3 separate regions of the Homo sapiens genome follow, and all the other regions are linked to region 2. The links are contacts of gene promoters, found by promoter capture Hi-C in blood cells and fetal thymus (Javierre and others, 2016). All regions are on one chromosome and are shown on one strand. The core of a region is centred on a gene start or on the middle of the fragment in contact, and the rest is flanking DNA. Distances in the headings are between cores, read along the strand shown.

Region 1 (4,850 bases), core at 955-3,454, 100 kb after region 2:
ATCAGTTGGGCTCAAGCAATTAAACAATTGTCAAATGCATCAAGCATCTGTGATATGAATTCACAGGCACATCTGAGGAAGAGCCCAACAGTAATTCCTCATCTTGTGGCTGGACCTTGGGAGGACCCTTGGAATTCCCTGGGAGAGCTCTTATCTAGGACTGGCCCCCTCTCCTGCCAGGAGCCACCTTCAGAGACTGAGGGACTGTGAGTTCCTTCTCCCTAGCTCCTCCCTCGTAATTCCCAACATCTCTGACCACTGGCAGCTCTCCCCAGAGGCTGGAGGGCTACTGATGATTCCACGGAAGTGACTGCATGCACCGATCCTAACCCCCGATAACTCTAAGGATGCTAGGTAGGAATCTCCTTCCCAGGATCATAAAACTTGGTGGAGAGGAGGGGTTTGAAAAAGATTAATAACCTGCTAAGGACGTGACCAGACTGCCTTATTGAAAACAAGGGACTTGTGTGTGTCTTCTCTTCCCATTAACATCCCAACTGCCTGGTGAACAACCAGCTCGAGGAAAAGAAAAAGGAGATTTGCTGCTGTTGCTAGGACTAGGGCCCCAAATACATTAAGGCCCTTGATGGGGGAGTTAAGCCTGCCACCGTCCAGCGTTATGGGGTAAGCAAGCACTATCAGGTCTCTAAGTGGTAAACATAATTTTCCCACATGGGAGACACTAATCCACATCATGCTGAAAGCAAAGTTATAAAGTGCGGCTGTCCCACCCCACCCACCCCACCCCATCTCGGTCATGAGCATCCAGGTGCCTTTTCTTTTTAGAGACAGGGTGTCATTCTGTCACCCAGGCTGGAGTACAGTAGTGTGATCATAGCTCACTGCAGCCTCGAACTTCTGACTCAAGCCATCCTCCCACCTGCCTCCTGAGTAGCTGGAACCACAGGCACATCCCATCATGCTTGGCTCAGTTGCGTTTATGAAGCTTCTTCCACTCGGCTCTGAGCCTTGCTCCTGGAGTCATCCTTCGGCCAGGGCTGCTGGCACCTGAAGCCACTCTGGCCCCTGAACATCCCCCAGCCACACTAGTCCTGGCTCTCTTCTTCACGATGTCCATCAGGCAGAGACCAGCCAATGGGAGGTCAGACCCACCCTCCTCTGAACTCAGTGACATGTATGGGCTTTCATTATGTGCCTCTTCACAAATTTTATCTTTTTTCATTTTTGTGTCCCTTAGGATAGGAATTCCTAGCTCTACTTAATAGATGAGTGTGGGGCCGGGCATGGTGGCTCACGTCTGTAATCTCAGCACTTTGGGAGGCCAAGGTGGGGGAATCACCTGAGGTCAGGAGTTCAAGACCAGCCAGGCCAACATAGTGAAACCCCATCTCTACTAAAAGTACAAAAAGTAGCCGGGCGTGGTGGCAGGCGCCTGTAATTCCAGCTACTTGGGAGGTTGAGGCAGGAGAATTGCTTGAACTGGGGAGGCAGAAGTTGCAGTGAGCCGAGATCATGCCACTGCACTCCAGCCTGGGTGACAGAGCAAGACTCCATCCAAAAAAAAAAAAAAAAAAGATGAGTGTGGTAGGCAGAATAAAGTCCCCCAAAGACGTACACAGCCTGACCCCTGGGACCTGTGAATATTTCCCTCTGTGGCAAAAGAGACTTTGCAGAAGAGACCAAGTCAAAGATCTTGAGATAAAGATATTATTCTGGATTATCACAGCTTCTAAATGCAACCACAAGTGTTCTTATAAGAAGAAGGCAGAGGGAGATTTGACAGTAAAGAAGGCAATGAAACAAGGTGCTGTTCTGCTGGCTTTGAAGATGGGGGAAGAGGTCAACAATCAAGGAATGCAAGGAATGCAGCATTAGAAGCTGGCAAAGGCAAGGAAATGGGTTCTCCCAGAGCCTCCACGGGGATCTTGGTCCTACCAACATCTTGATTTTAGCCCAACGAAATTGATGTCAGACTCCTGACCTCCAGAACGCTAAGAGAATAAATGCATGTTGTTTTAAGTCCACACGTTTGTGGTGCTATATTACAGAGGCAATAGGAAAGTCATAAAATGAGTAAACAGAGACACGTAATGACTTGCTTCAAGTCACGCAGCAAGTCAGTGGAGCTGGAATTCACACTCTGGCTTTTGGATTCTAAGCCTCATATTCTTTCTGTTACACCATGCTGCTTCTGAGACTCTGCAGCAATTGAGAGTGTAATAATCGGGGAACAGATAAATTAGGTAATCAGTGTGTGTGTGTGTGTGTGTGTGTGTGTTAGCAGGATTAGACAATAGGGTACGAAAGAGAACATGTCATTGACTTGTACTTATCTCTCAAACTATCCAATGGAAAATTGAGAAACACCAAATACAAATTATAAAAAGGTATCATTAAGCTCAACATTTTGCCTCTGTTTTTCTGGTCACAGCGCAGTTGGTCTTCATATTGCAAAATAGTGATGATCTTGTTCTGTCCACGTGTTCACCTAAAGCACTGGTCTTACAGAAGGGTTTGAAAGAAAACAAATGGGCCAGGTGTGGTCGCTCACATCTGTAATTCCAGCAGTTTGGGAGGCCAAGGAGGGTAGATCACTTGAGATCAGGAGTTCAAGACCAGCCTGGCCAATATGGTGAAACCCTGCCTCTACTAAAAATACTAAAAATTAGCCGGGCATGATGGCACACGCCTGTAGTCCCAGCTACTCAGGAGGCTGAGACAGGAGAATTGCTTGAACCCGGGAGGTGGAGGTTGCAGTGAGCTGAGATGGCACCACTGCACTCCAGCCTGGGAGACAGAGTGAGACTCCATCTCTAAAAAAAAAATAGAAAATAAAAGATAAATAACTGTTCCTTGTGAGCCCTAACAAATAACAGAAAGTGTATAGAATAGATGCAAGCCGGGACTTGGGTCCTGAAGGCCAGAGTTCAATGTTTGCATTTCCTAAAGGAAATCTAGGGCAATCACATCTCTAACGGACAGCGGTCACTTTCGTGCCAGAGATAAGCCTTGAGCTCTTGCTCACTTGGTACATGTTGCATTTTCTCCTTCATTTTTAACTCCTCAGGAACCCCTAGAATGGTAAACTGGGAAGTCACCTCATTTAACTTAACAAGGAATCTGGGGCCCAGAGAGCTTAGGGGTGCCTCAGATGCTACTGGTTATGACCACGATCTGATGGGTCATCGTTACTTGAAGGGGTGAGCAGAGGCTTCGCTTAACTTCCTTAAGGCTCTCAATGGAAGAACCGCAAGTGTCTGTCCCCTTGTCATTTTCTGAAAAAGCAATTTATCATTAAGTCCTCCCTGTTGCTGAGCTATTCAATACTTTTTTACCTGTAAAAACTCCACTCTGGTTAGTTACTGCTTGGACATGATACCACAGCATTACCTGAGAGGTCACAACACATTTTATGTCTTTGGTCAGAAATAGAAAAACAGAAGCACAAGACCCCTAGCCAGAAGATGACAGCATGCCAGAGCTTAGTGTCACCAAGCTTTCCTTTCTATTTTTGGAAGCTTTAACTTATTAGGCAAACGTATCATCCAACAAACACTGGGAAATGTAAGTTGGAAAGGTCCCGCTAGTTGATTAAATTCCCTCATTCTCTTCCAAGGCTCTCCCCCAAAACTGAAAGCCCCGTATCAGCTCTCATAAGAATAATAGGAGGAAACAAGCATTTTCTAAGTCTTTGATCCTACTCCTGCCTAACCTCCTAATTCAATCTTCACCCCTGGTTTTAAAGCCACCAACACCTCTCCTGCTCCCAGAACTTTTCTCTAGCTGGGACCCTGTCTGCTGCTTTAATCAGAAGACGTAAGTAAAGAGCTGTCTGAAGCCCACTTTGGGGAGTCAATGTGGAATCAGGGTAGAAGATTCTTGATGCCCAGGTGGCCATCCTCCACCTAAACAGGATCCTGCCAACATCATTGTACTGCCCAGCTTGCTACAGCACAGTGACAAGATGTGCTGGTGATATCTTTCAGTGGAGATTGTACTTTGCACTGGACAAGTCCTCATAGATGCCGAACTCATGTCAGACAATAAAGCAGGACTTTAAATAGCATGGCAGAGGCAATCTAGAGCTATCATTAACTCTAATTCTCAGAATCAGAGGACTTTGCTTATTTTGTCAATAACATCTACCGGCAGAGAACACCCAGGCCAGGGAAGCAGTGGGACTCCCCACAGGGAAGAGGAGCCACTGCCTACTAAACATGCATGGTTTGTCTTCACAGTGGACAGTTTGGTGGCCGCAGACATCATCTTCTACAACCACATCTACATCCTTGCCTTTCTGTTTCAAGTTGTTCTCTTGAGAAACTGTTCAAATTTTCAGGAGCTGAAAATGTACTGCCTTAAATCCAACTCATGCCGAGATTTCCAGGTTTGCTTTGAGGAATCCACTGCACTGATGGTGACTTGTTTAAAATTCTTCAGCTCTTCTATTATGTCCAATTCAACAAATAGTTACTGAGTGATTGCCGTAGCCAGTCTCTGCTGAGCTGGGCGTCTTCAGGTTGTCTCGGACCTCATGGAGCTCCCAGTCTATCTGGGAAGACAAAGTTAAGAAATAATGAGCATTGCAAAGTGTATTATAAATAGCAAGGAGATGTTAGTCTAGAGGGCCAGCTGCTGCTGTTGCCACTGCAGCAAATTGAAGCCAGAAAGAGAACCGGAGGAAATGCAGGAAATGTGCCTGGAAAAAAAATAATAACAGCATGGTGGCCACCCACAATGGTGATCAAGTTTTTTTCCAAGTTCTAATGAAACATCCATTCATTTTTATTTTGTGAGATTGAAGCTGTAATAGCTCGGTATACAAAGAATTTCCTGTAGATTAATATGAAGCTGGAAGGAGTTGATAGATTTCAGCAGTGATTTGGGCT
Region 2 (4,659 bases), core at 1,649-4,148:
GGGTGACTAATTGTACAACTGTATAGTTCAATATGACTGACTCTACATAATACACTCTGAAATCTTTCAATGGGCATTCCCGCAACTGACTTTGCTACAATCCAGATACTGTGACAGCCAACACAGGGCCTGTATTTTAAATTTTAAAACTTTGCAAGCTCAATTTAAAGGAGTCAAGCTAGGGTCAAAAAAAAAGTAATGAGGACAGGGAGGAGTTAATATTCTCCAAACAGACTAAGAATGCTCTCCAGGCTGAGTACTGCGGAGAAAAAACAGGAGAGCAGCTCTGGGAGTCCAAAGGCTGGAAAACTATAGTTTCTTAACTTCCATATCCGCTGTTAAAGTTGCCTAACACAGCATTTTCCTCAATTCCAAGATGCACAAATGATTTGGGGAGGAAAGGAAAATACATCATATTAAAGGGGTAAAGAGGTATACACTTAAGAATCTAAAAACGTGGAAGATACGCAACTTTGAACTGAGGAGCTTCAATACCCTTCTTGCAACAGAAGCACAAAGTGCCTCGGGTTAGAACTGTGGTTTCTCCAAGGCCTGCTACCGGTGTGCAAGCTCACAGTCGCATTTTTCATTTCATAAGCCTAGAGTTAACTTTTTAAATTCGTTTCCCCCCAAACATTCATCCTATTTTAGAATCCTATTTTCCTAAACTGAAAGCAAGCAAACTGGTCTAAAACCTGGAAGTCTTTGTGTTTGTGCCACATTTACAAGCTACAGATAGGTTTTTGAACAAATAACTGAGAAGCTATTGTTTAATATTACTTTATTTAGGTCAAGGATCTCCTCAACATAACTTCGCCATTGTACATAAGTCACCACTGTTACAACCTTCTATCTACTGCCATGGGGCCTCTTTCTCCAAGAGGCAGTTCACCTTTATTATCTACTTTCTAGGGCTTTTTTTCTTTTTTTTGCCCCCCTTCCCTCATGCGAAGATTTCAAGGAAGGTTATTTATTATTTTAACCAAATTACGCTCTGTTGATCTGAACTAGAGTGAAAAATGGGTGCTCCACATCCAAAGGCTATGTTATTACAGGACATAAAAAAAAATGGTAAAAGAAATACACTTAATACTTGCAGCCATGTTAACCAAGATACTTGGCAACTATGGCAAAAACAAAGGGGAGGGCAAGTCTTCATTTCAAAGGTTTCAAAGGGTTACAGAATGAGCAAATATTATTGCCTACAGGTTGCCTCTTTCAGTGTCACCTGCTACCTCCCCAAGACAAGGAAAGTAAACAAAAGGAATTTCAGTAACGAATTTCCCAGGTTCCACATTCCCTAAAACACGTAAGTTGAAGGGAGGGCTTAAACAACTTCCACCTAATTAAAAATCTTCCCTTTTAATAATGCTTTGTTTTCACTGCTCCTATCCTTTCGGAGTTACATATGCTGGTAAGCAAGGAGGAGGGCCAAAAGGGATATTCAAGAGGCTGAACAGATACTATCTTAACTTCTTCCAAATCCATGAAGAACAAGCTGGGGGACACAATGGCATGCCTGGCCAGGCTGTCTGGACCTCATAGAGAGGCACTGGCGTCCCTTCCCAGTTAACAATATGCAAAGCACACTTCCTAACAATCTCCCGACGCTCCGTGATTGTTAGTTTATCAATTGAGCTTAAGTTCAACCAAACTTGGTAATACTCCTCGCAATTGACCTGGAGCCTAATTTCAAACGTAAAAATGCGTCCACTCCTCTAGCGCTGTAGGAAGCTGTGCTTACAAAGTTCGGACGTGGTACAATGATTTTTGTTTTATTACACCTGGTGGAGAAAAAAAAACATAACACCAAACTACGTTACCGAATTCCGAATTCACGGGAGAATGGGGATTTCGGCGACGACTTGAGGAGTACATGACCCAGGACAGAGGACGAAGTGAGCTGCCTCCGGGCCGCGGGCCCCTGTCCTTGGCCACGCCGTCACCTGAAAGGGGCCGCTGGTTCGCTTAGCATCCCTCCAAACCTGAAATCCCCTACCTCAAGATCAATCAAAAGCAGGGGGAAGAAAGTGTCTTCTGGAGGCGCAAGAAAGGCCACAACTTGGATGAATGAAACTGGGCTAAGGGCACCCGGAGCGGGATTTTCGCTGAAGTCAGAAAAAGAAAAGTCAAAAGATTTTTTTTTAACATGAGAGCGATTGCAAGAGACTGGAATACAGACAACGGCACAAACAAGCTTTGGAGGAACGCTTTATTGGGCGCGGACGTTCCGGGCGGCCGGCGGGCGCTAGAGCGGAGGCGGTCGGCGGCAGCCGGCGGGCGGCGGAGCGGGACGGACCAGGCGGCGGCGGCGGGGCCGGCGACGAGGCAGCTTCACGACTGGCGGGGACGGGCCGGAGTCGGGCTGGGCGCCCGCGCGTGTCCTCCCGCGGACCTTCCACTGGACTCCCGCGGGCCGGCGCCGGGATCGGGGTCGGGGCCCGCTCGGTCCGCCCCGCCCCCCGCCCGGCGGGCCGCTTGCGAGGCACACCCTCCCGGACCGCGCACACGCGCAGGCACACCCCCGCCTCCCGCGCGCACGCGGCCGGGCCCGGCCGGCCCACGCGCGCCCCCTTCCCGCGGACGCCCGCCGCCCGCCCGCCGCCCCGGCCTCCTCCGAGGAGTGCAGGAAGGCCCGGGGTCCCGCGGCCAGGGCGCGCGGGGGACGGCGGCCTAGCGGCAGCGGGGGCGCCCGCGCGGGAAGACCGGCTCTGAGGGAAGGTCACTTACCCGCTGCATGGCTTTCAGGATTAAAGCCAGCTCGTAGCGGGGCATGCCTGGAGGATCGGCGAGTGCGGCTCGGAAGCCAGCCGGTTCCCGGGACGCGAAGGGGCGGGACGGCGGGGACAGTGGGGACCTAGAAACTGCTGCGCCGGACGGCTCCCAGGCGGCGAAAGCACGGTCCGAGAGCGCGAGCCCGGGCTTAAAGGCGCTGGCAGCTGCGCAGACGCCGCGCCACGCCCCCTCGGCGCGCCCCGCCCCGCCCGCGCGCCTTGCCGCCGCCCCGCCCCCTCTCCGCCCGCGGGCGGCCGCCACGCCCCCTCCGCAGCCCCGCACCCGCCGCACCGCCCCCGCCCCGACCCCAGCCCAGCCCGCCGGCCGCGGCTAGGGGCGGTGCTGCAGACGCGGCCCAGAGCGGCTCGCGGCGGCCGCACGCCCCCTCGCGACCCTGCCTGCCCCTACCCCGCCTCCTGCCATGCCTGCTACCTAGCTCTCGAACCGGCTGGAACTTTCCATGCCTTCCTTCTCCTCCCGGGCGGCGGGCGAGTGAGTGCCCGCCAGTGCGCGTGCGCTGCGGTGCGGTCTCGTCCGTGCGCGTGCCCCTCGCCCGCGACTCCCCGGAGCTAGGGACCTTCGCGGCGCAAGGCGGGGTCGCGGCCGGCCCGGGGGCTGTGCGGCCAACGGCTGCTCGCAGGGGTTCTGGAACATTCCCGCCCGGGGTCGGTAGGGGGGTGCAGCTCTCGCCCCCAGCCACAACTCTCAGGTCTGACGCGGCTGACCAGGCCCCCTACCCGGCGAGGAGCGCGCTGGCACAGGCCGTGGGCCGCGGCGCGCGGGCTCGGGTCTGACTCAGTCCCTTGGCACTGCGTGACCTTGGGCCTGCTGCCTGTGCCGAAAGTGGGGACCCGAGTGAGTTACTGCACGTTAACCTCCGAGGACGGTGCCTGGTACACACAGGCGCGATACGGGCATTTGTGGTGTGCCCCTGACCTGCCCCCACGTGTTTCAGCGGAGGGCAGGCGAACACCTTAACTCTATCTCATTTCTTTAAATGTTTCCTCCGCTTTCACTTAAAGGCTAGGCTGAGTGCCTGGGAGACCCTTTAGCAACTGTCTAAGGTGGGCAGGGGCATACGTTCTGCCCTTGCCATCCCTTTACACCCACATGGTTCTCCGCCCTCCAGCCAGGGGCTCTGCAAGTGCAGTTTTCTCCAGCGCCCTTCCTTAGAGGTTGAGTACCCTGCAGCTGAGGCCTCTGCCCCTTGTTTGCCCCATTAAAAGCTCTGTACGTGGAGTGTTTGTCAACTTAAAGTGCTTTAACGTTAATAGGTAAAGTTTAGTGAACACTTACTCTGCATCAGGCCCCATGCCAAGGCTGGTGGATGTGTCTCCTAAAATTCTCACAACAGCCCTGAGGTGACAAAGATTCTTTGCTTGGCCAAACTTTAGTCAGGCTTCTGAATCTCATGCTAGGCCCATCTGTGCACTTCCTTGTAAAATCCAGTTCTAGCACAGAACCCCCATCCCCTCATAGCAGATCAGGTTCCTCATCTTCCTCTATCCCCCAGTCATGTCTTTTCACCCTGGCCTGAGTTCTACAAGAATCCTTTAGATCGGTTGAGCCAGAATCCCTCTTCCCCCGATGGTTACTCTTAGTGATTTTACATGGCCATAAATTTCTACTTGCCGACGCTGCATTCAGAATTGGAGCCCACTCTCTCTCCCCGGGTTTCCCTGATCCCTGTACCCATCGCGTTGGTCCTGAATAAAGTCTTTCTTACCATGCTTTAGTAAGCATCACTGAGTAATTTTTTTAAACAGAGGCAAGCACTGTTAACCCCATATTAGGGATTAGGAAATGTAGGCACAAAAAGTTTTGTAACTAGTCCAAGGTCATACAGTAATAGAAACAAAGTACTTTTAGCCGCCCCTCTACCCT
Region 3 (4,721 bases), core at 2,222-4,721, 85 kb after region 2:
AAAAACAGACTAATACAACAAGTGAGCCTCCAAGTCAGTACCTCAACCCCAGGTAAAGCATCCAAAGCCCCCTGTGGAACTTTAGAAACTACAGAGTTTGCACTTCCTCTCCACATCCCAGTAAACAGAAAACCCAGGAAAGGGGCGGGGAGGAAAGCGCTGGGAACGTGCAGTTTTCAACCTTTTGTTTAAGGGTTTCTGCTGCCACCAAGGCTGAGAACCAGAGCACCGAGGCAAGATTCAACAGACGTTTTGGAGCTCCAAGTTCACTAAATTGCAAGGTATAAAAAATTAAAACAGGAGCACAAGCATGCCCAGAAGTACATAAGAATTTGGCTTGTTCTTCTTTCCAGCCATCTCCCACGTCTTCCTCCTCCTCCCTCTGCCCACCTGGACATGGAATCCAGGTTCTCAGTTTGGAAAAGGGAATGAGGGAAGAGAAAATGAGAATGGAAGAGGCACAGCTAATGCCCTTCAAAGCCATCAGCACCTGCACCTTTCTGCTTCTCCCTCCTCCCCAGAGACTGGCAGTAAATGTCTATTTTTAAAAAGCAACAGCTATTAATAATTTCTCTACCAATTCAGGTAATGTTTAATCCCTTATTGTCAACCACAGTGGTTTGTGGACGAAGGACTTCTGGTTTATTATAGTCATTACTGCCTTACTGTCAGTTTTCCAAAAAAGTATTTTCATTTTATTTTTATTAGGGAAGTGCGGACTCTTTAATTCCTTGGCAAACCCAAACTCAATCAATATATTTATTGTACTAAGTCTTCTAAAACCCAACAAATTACCGTCCCTCCTGTTAAGGTCCTTAATTAGTTTGCTAATGAGTATTCCCTGTTTAAGGACATGATCCTGAACAAGCACACAGAAGTCATCAACCTCAAATGTAATTTTCATGGAGTTACCTCCTCAACCTGGCTGTGGCCCCCATCATGTCTCAAATTAAATTAAAATCACAATTCCCATAAAGGCTCTCCACCATCAGCCTTCCCCTGCCTGACAGCCTTCTTTTAGTGCTCCCTTCCCCCAATAGATGTCTTCTCATTCCTTTTGCCTAGAATCTTCTTCCGCTCTCTCTGCTACCTGGCAAGCTCTCAGCTGTCTCTAAAGGCTGGCAGTCAGCATCCTTTCTTTCCTTCTAGGAAGCTTTTCAAATCCTCTCTAGCAAGATTAGCATATTTTTCCTCTGAGCCTGCTTCTACCAGACCTCAGTCATCCTGTTCCATAAAGTCTGTGCCTCCATGCTCCAGACTTTGAACTTCTCAAATAAGACTTCGTCATCTCTGTATCCCCAGTGTCTTGCATAAAATCTGCCCAGGGAAGATGGCCCATAAATGCTGGATTAATTGAACGAATGTATAAAAGAAGCAAGCCTACCTACAGTCCTCTACACAATACTCACTCTCTCCTCCATCTTTCCCAATGTTCATCCTTTTTCCAGAGTAACCTGAAAACCACACACCTACCATGAGGGCAGGAGACTTATCTGTTCTGTTCCCTATTGTATCCCCAGTGCCTAGAACCCTGCCTGATGTATTGTAGGTGCTCAGTAGACATTTGTTGACCAAATGAATGAATTCTTCAAACTTATCGTTCAAAACCCACTTCCTCTACCCAGCTCTCACCATTCCCAGAGGACTGTCCTCCATCTACTCCCCTCCTCCTTTCTGAGGGAAAACTGCTTTCTGTAAATCTCTACTCATCACACCATCCTGTCTTTTTTTTTTCCTTTTTGATTTTTTTGAGACAGAGTCTCACTCTGTTGCCCAGGCTGGAGTGCAGTGGCACAATCTCAGCTCACTGCAACCTCCGCCTCCCAGGCTCAAGCAATTCTTGTGCCTCAGCCTCCCAAGTAGCTGGGACTACAGGCACGCACCACCATGCCTGGCTAATTTTTGTACTTTTAGTAGAGACAGGGTTTCACCATGTTGGCCAGGTTGGTCTCGAACTCTTGATCTTAAATGATCCACCTGCCTCGGTCTCCCAAAAAAATATATAAAACTTTGCGATTACAGGCATGAGCCACCACACCCAGCCTCAACCTGTCATTATCAAGAATTTTGGTGCAAATATACCAGTTTGGGATTACATAAATTCTTCCCAATTTGATACAATCCAGAAATCAACCATGTACCATGACTCATCTTTTTCCCTATGTGCAAAAAAAAAAAAAAAAAAAAAAAAAACTGTCCTGTAAACCTTATGGGCCTACTTAACAATCAGATTTAGGTAGCTATTCACGTAGGCATGAGAACAGAGTATCCCGCTGTGTTCAACATTGTGGTCGACAGAGAATTGCAAACTGCAATTAACATCACTCATCCATCCCTAAGTTTCCAAGAATGAGAACACGGTGAAATGTGCTTCATGGTAAAAATCTACTGAGTAGAATCTAAACTTTCTTTGACGGTTTCTGGATCTACATAGCCCCAGGATTACTCTGAACATCAATATCTTTTTATGAAAGTTATACAGAAGCATGTCAGTCAAGGAGCCTGTTTGCAAGAGTCCTGTGTGTGTTGACTGGGGTACCCACCCCACACACTCCAGGTTGCTCTGTGCTGCAGTGCCCACCCATTGAGGATTTCATGTAATAAACCTCAGCGACCCCTCCTAACTGGCCTATTTGCCGATAAAACCAGCTGCTGAACTACCCCTCCAACTCTCCTACTTGCAAACTCCATCTCCTCCAAATTCCAGTGGGAAAGACAATTGTTTTATTTTATCTTAGTCTTTTAATTATCTTCTTCTTCTATTTACTTTTCTGAAGCTTAGAGCTATAAAGGACTTTGGGCACACCCAACCAGACATTGCTATATAAGACTATATATTTTATAGATATATATACAATTAAAAGTTAGAGGGTCATTACACTATAGGATAAAACAGCAATAAAAACTTTATACTTAGAGCTTAGGTTAATCCTTTTAAAAGCACCTGCTCTTTGGCTGGGCGCAGTGTCTCACCCCTGTAATCCCAGCACTTTGGGAGGCCAAGGCAGGCGGATCACCTGAAGTCAGGGGTTTGAGACCAGCCTGGCCAATATGGCAAAACCCCATTTCTACTAAAAATAACAAAAATTAGCTAGGCATGGTGGCAGGAGCCTGTAATCCCAGCGACTCAGGAGGCTGAGGCAGGAGAATTGCTTGAACCCAGGAGGCGGAGGTTGCAGTGAGCCACTGCACTCCAACTTGGACAAGAGTGAAACTCCATCTCAAAAAAAAAAAAAAAAAAAAAAAGCACCTGCCTTTTGAGGACTGTATCAGGACTCAGGCCTCAAAAGCTGATTTGACCATCTGTGCTGGAGAGACATGTAAAAAATTAGAAGGTCAATCTAACCAGGCCTTACACATAGGCTTACAGTTCATGACCGAGGTATCATAACATGATGGGTACACCATGTTATGATTGCTATCACAATATTCCTAATAATAACATCTACTATAAGAATAATAAGGCTACCATTTTGTGAAATAGGCATTAGTATCCCAGTTTTGCTGACAAGAAAACTGAGGCTGGGACAGGCTGTATATCGCCAGGACTGAGAGATAATAAGTGAAGATTGCTGGTCCTCAGACCCATCTGTGTGATGCCAAATCTCATTCTCTTAACCACCCTGCTCATCCCAGCCCTGCCCTGTACATACACACACACCCTAACGTAGAGAATATTTGTAATTATCCTGGCTGCCCAGCATCTGAACTCCCTTCCTGGGTTCAGGGAATCCTCTATTTATGTATGAATCGTGTAGGAGGCAGGGCGTGGAACCTCCTAGTACAGAAGCTGAGCCCCTTCACTCCTGCCTTTTCCAGCCTCCCTTGCTGCCGGGGCTGCTAGGGCTCAAGCACATGACCTAGGTCCAGCCAATCAGATGCACCCTCCTGGATTCTAACTCAGGAGCTGGTGGGGGTTAGAAGGGGGCCCACAAGAAGCCCTTCTAGCAGCAGGGGCAGCCTGTTCTGTGTGCTTGTTCAGGATCATGGGGGCAATTTCTCATGGTTGAGCACATCCCCTCGGTGCTGTTCTCGTGACAGTGAGTGAGTTCTCGTGAGATCTACTTGTTTAAAAGTGTGTGGCACCTCCCCTGCACCTTCCTCCTGCTCCAGCCACGTGAAGTGCCTCACTCGCCCTTGGCCTTCCACCATGATTGGAAGCTTCCTGAAGCCTCTTCAGAAGCAGAAGCCACTATGCTTCCTGTACAGCCTGCAGAACTGTGAGCCAGTTCAACCTCTTTTCTTTATAAATTACCCAGTCTCGGGTATTTCTTTATAGCAGTGTGAGAACGAACTAATAAAAACATGTTCATGAAAAGACCTAAGGGAGAGCTGGTAAATGTGCCTTATGAATAGTCCTTAGCGGAATCAACCATCCCAAACATTCCAAAGACGATCCTAGTCTTTCTTGGTTTCAGATGCAATGCGCAAATCCTCTCATCCAAGCTGGGACAGTCAACACCACCTTTTCCCCAGAAAAATCAGCCATTAGAGAACCACAGACTCCCCGCTTCCCAGGAACTCCAGTGATCTTGGGCTGCACCCACCCTGTCCCCTCCCCTATGCCCTTGCCAATCCAGCAGCCTCTGCAGAGGGTTTCTCTGCAAGGACATCAGATGCGCGTCCTCTCTAAAGAAGCTGCCTCCACCCAGAGGCTGAGTCAGGTTGGGAAATGAGAACTGAGTTTGCATCCAGAAGAACTGTGTTCAGTCTCCCTCAGA

Evidence for each region. The method cuts DNA at HindIII sites, captures the fragments that hold promoters and counts their contacts. A CHiCAGO score of 5 or more calls a contact.
Region 1: a contact is called between a fragment that was not itself captured here and the fragment with the promoter of MRPS6 in region 2, in 5 of 17 cell types (total CD8 T cells, activated CD4 T cells, naive CD8 T cells and 2 more). The highest score is 6.3, in total CD8 T cells.
Region 3: a contact is called between a fragment that was not itself captured here and the fragment with the promoter of MRPS6 in region 2, in 2 of 17 cell types (total CD8 T cells and activated CD4 T cells). The highest score is 5.7, in total CD8 T cells.

Annotation. Positions count from the first base shown.
Region 1 is chr21:33,968,900-33,973,749 of GRCh38, reverse strand. LINC00649 (long intergenic non-protein coding RNA 649) reads right to left here. Exons shown (of 3, transcript NR_038883.2): 3 at 2,564-4,513. Among named protein-coding and RNA genes, the nearest start is that of LINC00649, 40 kb to the right of the region's middle. RefSeq lists a silencer at 1,688-1,982 and an enhancer at 1,381-2,070. The HindIII fragment of the contact is 2,511 bases long and covers 949-3,459 here.
Region 2 is chr21:34,071,817-34,076,475 of GRCh38, reverse strand. MRPS6 (mitochondrial ribosomal protein S6) reads right to left here and starts at 2,898. Exons shown (of 3, transcript NM_032476.4): 1 at 2,731-2,898. The coding sequence starts at 2,775. SLC5A3 (solute carrier family 5 member 3) reads right to left here and starts at 2,898. Exons shown (of 2, transcript NM_006933.7): 1 at 2,731-2,898. RefSeq lists silencers at 2,241-2,640, 2,931-3,450 and an enhancer at 2,037-2,987. The HindIII fragment of the contact is 10,607 bases long and covers 2,200-4,659 here.
Region 3 is chr21:33,987,778-33,992,498 of GRCh38, reverse strand. The region is part of intron 2 of LOC105372790 (a long non-coding RNA gene); the gene reads right to left. Among named protein-coding and RNA genes, the nearest start is that of LINC00649, 59 kb to the right of the region's middle. The HindIII fragment of the contact is 1,384 bases long and covers 2,780-4,163 here.